2 separate regions of the Homo sapiens genome follow, and region 1 is linked to region 2. Evidence: promoter capture Hi-C in 16 types of primary human blood cells and fetal thymus (Javierre and others, 2016). All regions are on one chromosome and are shown on one strand. The core of a region is centred on a gene start or on the middle of the fragment in contact, and the rest is flanking DNA. Distances in the headings are between cores, read along the strand shown.

Region 1 (2,700 bases), core at 73-2,572, 130 kb before region 2:
AATTTTTTGTATTTTTAGTAGAGACAGGGTTTCACCATGTTAGCCAGGATGGTCTCGATCTCCTGATCTTGTGATCTGCCCACCTCGGCCTCCCAAAGTGCTGGGATTACAGGCGTCAGCCACCGCACCTGGCCTCCCTGATGATTTTCAAACATTAGATGGAATAGAAAATTAGAATCCAATATGGTAATTGGTGTTTTTTTTTGTAGTCATATATTGCATTATTAAGGTAAATATTGGCGTATATTCATTATGCTAAGTGTCTAGGTTTTGATGTTAAAAGACCTAGAGGGTACTTGGTTGCTGTTCTTGAAATTAAAATATTCTCTCTTAATTACACCATCTGTGGAATAGTAGCCACCTTTTGCATTCTTTTCCTTCTAATTTCTAAGTCTACTTAATATTGTAGAAATACTCCGAGCTTGTAGTCCATTTATAATTATTTTAAATAGTTGGAAGAGATAACATTATCTGCAGAGCATTTATGTAGAATAATGGATAGTACCAAACTTTGTTGTCAGAAGGCTACTTTATTAAAGTTATCAGAAACATTGCAGTTTTTAGGTCTTTATCTTGTGGTATTCGTTTACTACTTATTTAAATCATTAAAGATTTGAACACAGTGTTCTAGAAAGTGCTGTGGTATAAAACTCATGATTGTAGAATGGAAAAATAAAGCAGATAAAGTATTTGATTCACGTTTCAGGCAATTGCTTGTCAGCATCATTAATTTTTGTTGTATTTGTACATATAGGTGCTTGTGAATGACTTCTTCTTGGTGGCTTGTCTTGAGGATTTCATTGAAAATGCCCGTCTCTTCATATTTGAGACTTTCTGTCGCATCCACCAGTGTATCAGCATTAAGTAAGAACACCGTGATTTGATTTGGATTTTCTACTTTAAAATTCCTGGAAATTTCCATTTATTGTGAATTTACACTTAATAGAATTCCAGTTAATTGGATTTTTATTTATTTTTGCTTTCAGAAGAACAATGAAACAATTTGATAAAATTATTTAAAAACCTAACTTTTGCTACAGGCTCAGATAGTTTTAGCTTGAGTGGCATAATTTTTCAAAATACTAAGTTGAAGGCAATATATGATTATCAGTTACCTTATTGAAGAGTAAATACTCTTGTACCTTTACGTAAGGAGAAAAGTGTAGTAAACATTTCTAAAATGGTTTTCAACAACAGTACAAAGGAGATACCCATTAAATTGGAAATTCTGTTGAAAGACCACTACATTTGGTAATCCTTTCCATTTAGTTTGTATGATTTAATTACATATTTGACTTCTCCTATAGTAAACTCCTATGGCATCTTAAAATGTTGAAAGATGGAAAAATTATAGTGAATTTTAGTTGTAATTTCCTGTTTTGTCAGAAAATATTGGGAAAAAATTGTGAAATGTACATAACCTATTAGAAATAAATTGTACACATTACAGTTTGAAAAATGACTAGTGCCCTTTGGGCACAGAGGAAGTCAAACAAATGTTTAAAAACCTACTGCTTTAGTGTTTGCTTCTGAGGAATTGTGCATAAAACAAATTCTTTTTCTTTAATGCCATTTGTTTTTGCTTATCCATACTTCGCTTGCCTAATTTTAGTGGGCCGTCCGTTGAAGTGGTTGTCCAGAGTTAGAAGGATAGTATAATCATGGGATTTTTCCTATGGGAATTGAATCCTTGCCTTCACAGTTTTATTAGCACTTTACTGTAGCTTGCAGACAGAATTTTTTAAACCTGATTCTCTTACAAATTACATGAAAATTCCTAATAATGTAATTGGTTATGAAATAAAGAGGTAGGTACATCATATGTGGGGCTCCGGTGGATAGTAGTAACTGAATTCTTGCATTGTTCTTTGTTTTTAAGGTTTGTAATTAGGGCTTGTGAAAGAGGGATGTTAGTATTTTGGTTTCCCTTGTAGAATTTTCTCCATTTCTCATTAGAATGTGGTCATTTGGGTGCTTTTTGGTCCAGAACTGACTTAGCTACTACCGCTGTTGTGGGCCTTTTGAAAGCTGACCCTTTTTTTTGCATCTTTAGCACCTAACATACTAACTTTGTAGCACCTAATATGCTTTGTACAGTATAGTGTGAGTATACAATATAAATATTTGTTAAGTAAATTTCTTCTGTTATTAGTGAACTTGGCATTTTTGTCCATGATAATGCTTGTCTGCTTTGGTGTTTGCTTCCGAGGTACTATCAATAAGATTTGTTGTAGCTCTTTTCCTTTAACTCTGCAGCCATGTATTCATTATTTTCTTTCTTGGGATTTGGTTTATTATCTTTTAAGAGGAACATAGATTAAGTATGTGTTCTCCTTACTGAAGGGAGATGTGCAGCTCAAAGAAGTTAATAGAGTGGGAATGTTTCTATATACCTTTATGTGACACTACCTAAGAATTTTTCAGACTTTTCTCCGTGTAGATTTTTATTACTTCCTTGATCTCTGTAGTTTTCTGCTAGACAAAAATCTACAAAGCATTTTCAGACTAAAGTCCTAGTGGCTTTCCAGAGTCTAAAAATATTTTTTTTTCTAGTAGTAGCATTTTCTTTCACTTCAGTTCTTCAATTTTTTTTTCAATGTTTTACTAAGATGATTAAGAGTACATAGATCAATAATGTATGTTTTTCTTTTTCTTTCTTTTTTTGGGGGGAGACACAGTCCTGCACTGTTGCCTAGGCTT
Region 2 (2,700 bases), core at 23-2,522:
AAGGCTCAAAAGTCAAGAAACAGATCCACTGTTTCTGCAATGTGTTTTGTGAACTCTATTTGTGCCCTGTGGGCCAGTCTCAGTGATGGATTTTCTTATCTATGAAATGGGACCAATGACCTCAACTCAGATTTACTTGGGTGTTCTCAGGCATGCATCAAAGGCATACTGCTGAAATTCTTAGCACATAAATACCACTATGTAATAGTGAGTCTGTAAAATAGTTATGAATAGGCAATAATGGAATAGTTAATAAATATGAGTATTGCAATATTCTTTTTATATGATTGTCTTTTAAGTCATCAAATTTCTGAACATCTTCTGAAACTGAAGGAATAGAAAAGGGAATTTAAATAGTATAAAATGCTATCATAATAATATGGTAACTGCGGGCATATCTATAGACATTCATACTGCCACGGTTAGTGGCATAAATTCTTATCTTTTGCTTAAGGAATAAATACATTTTTTCCTACAGTAGTGAATGCAGGACAGATTTCACCAGAATGAAATTGGATGGCATCAAGTCTATTTAATGTAACACTTTGTTAAACAGAATATTTTCCCCAAACCCAAAGCACCTAAAAGTTTAATTCAGGAGACTTTGGAAATGAGAGGAGGATTAAGAATGAAAAATACTTTAGTGGGAAGTGAACTTTTTAAAATTATTTTTAAAGAATCAAGGCCCCAACTTCTTCAGCACTTCAGGCAACGGATCACAGGTTTTTGTTTTATTGGAGAAGAAACAAAGTAAATAACAGTTCTGAGGATGAACAAAAGCTGTTGGGAATACCCATTTCACTCCTCAAAGTGGGGGCGCGTTTTATGAATAATTTCAGCCGGCTAACATACCTTCCTGCAAAACACAGACAAGATGTAAATTAAAAAGTGGCAGAGTTGTGGCATATTGCAAAAGTTTAAAGGGAGTCATCAGTCCTTCAGTCAGATCTCCCTGCAGAAAGGTTGGCGCTGAGGTTGGAACTGACCCTAGAGGGCTGGAGAGGACCCCTTGGGGGTGAGCAGCCGGGTTCTGGGACCCAGCAAGGTCAGGGGGCGTCTCCCCAGCTACTCTTTATCTATCCCCCGCACTCTGGAAAGCCCGAAGAGGATTCGCTCCAAGTTAGGCGCGCTGTTGGCTGTCAACGTTCTTTAGGACCTCAGGGAAACCGGGACGTTTCTGGCTTTAGGACCCAGGAACTCCGAGGCAGCCTAGACTTAGATGCCTTGGACCACAGCACCACCTACTTATAGAAGCATCCCAAGCCTCAGCCGGTCTGCATCTCCATCGGAAAGTGCGCTTGCCACATCCCTTCGGATCACTTCGTCCTCCCGAGAGCGTTCTGCCTTCTACAGCTCGGAAAGAAAGAAATCTTAGCTGTGAAGTGACCGTGGAGAAAGCGCAGGAAGCGACACAATTGGTTAGGGAGGCAGAGAGTGTGAGCGGGCGCACCCCTTGCCTGGGGACCGCGCTCGCGGGCGGGGACGGAGCATCCCAGTGGCTGCACCCGCCGCTCCGCGCTCCTGCCTGGCGTCGCCAACCCCGCGGCGGCCGCTGGAATTCCAGAGCTGCCAGGCGCTCCCAGCCGGTCTCGGCAAACTTTTCCCCAGCCCACGTGCTAACCAAGCGGCTCGCTTCCCGAGCCCGGGATGGAGCACCGCGCCTAGGGAGGCCGCGCCGCCCGAGACGTGCGCACGGTAGGCAACCCACACCAAGGCAGCCGCAGCTGCGGCGCTTGGGTACACCGCCGTGGACTCCAAATGGCCTAAGAGCGTTCTTTTAGCCCTGCGCTCTCAGTGCCTTTAGAGTTCTTTCCTTTCCCCGGAGCGCCGGCACAACGCATTATGCCGCTGGGTCGGAGCTTAGGGCTCGGCAGAGGTTGCTAATTCACTGATTATAATCACCTTCCTCTCCAACTCGTCCGCAGCTGCCCGCTCTGGATTAAGCCGCTCCGCGGCTCGTGCTAGGCAGTGGGTTCGCTTCCTCCTTCCCTCTCTTCTTTAAATTGGGACGTGCGAAGGCGCAGCTGCCTCCCCGGGGCTCTCTCCATCCCCCACACACCCTGTTTTCGCTTCTTGTCTCTCAGGTTCGTGGCGGAGAGATGCTGATCGCGCTGAACTGACCGGTGCGGCCCGGGGGTGAGTGGCGAGTCTCCCTCTGAGTCCTCCCCAGCAGCGCGGCCGGCGCCGGCTCTTTGGGCGAACCCTCCAGTTCCTAGACTTTGAGAGGCGTCTCTCCCCCGCCCGACCGCCCAGATGCAGTTTCGCCTTTTCTCCTTTGCCCTCATCATTCTGAACTGCATGGATTACAGCCACTGCCAAGGCAACCGATGGAGACGCAGTAAGCGAGGTGGGTCCCTCTCTGCCAAAGGTGCGTGGTGGGCTTCAGGGGTGGCGTGTGGAGGCGCTCACTCACGCCCTGGCTCCGGGGGCTCAGATGGTCAGGGCTGTGCTCTCCACCCCAGCTTTTGCGGGTCCCCAGTCCCCACCTTTAGGACCCTGGAGCTCTACAAAACACTCTGTTTTCTGTACCCTGGAGGCGCGGGGAGCCGGAGCGAGACGCGCTGGGAGCTCGGCGAGCCGGGCGCCAATCGGGCGCTCAGGGCTAAGTCGTGCGGTCCGCACTCATGTTCGCCGCCCCACCTCCTCATCTAAACTTGTCTCTTTAGGACGTATTTCTTATCTGACATGCATTTTTTTTTT

Evidence for each region. Contacts are between HindIII fragments. The CHiCAGO score rates a contact against its expected background, and 5 or more counts as called.
Region 1: a contact is called between a fragment that was not itself captured here and the fragment with the promoter of RSPO2 in region 2, in 3 of 17 cell types (M2 macrophages, monocytes and M0 macrophages). The highest score is 6.4, in M2 macrophages.

Annotation. Positions count from the first base shown.
Region 1 is chr8:108,212,771-108,215,470 of GRCh38, reverse strand. It overlaps EIF3E (eukaryotic translation initiation factor 3 subunit E), which reads left to right. Exons shown (of 13, transcript NM_001568.3): 10 at 755-864. Among named protein-coding and RNA genes, the nearest start is that of EIF3E, 35 kb to the left of the region's middle. The HindIII fragment of the contact is 5,072 bases long and covers 1-2,700 here.
Region 2 is chr8:108,082,192-108,084,891 of GRCh38, reverse strand. It overlaps RSPO2 (R-spondin 2), which reads left to right and starts at 1,272. Exons shown (of 6, transcript NM_178565.5): 1 at 1,272-1,695; 2 at 2,085-2,347. The coding sequence starts at 2,254. RefSeq lists a silencer at 2,241-2,416 and an enhancer at 2,133-2,700. The HindIII fragment of the contact is 4,613 bases long and covers 1-2,700 here.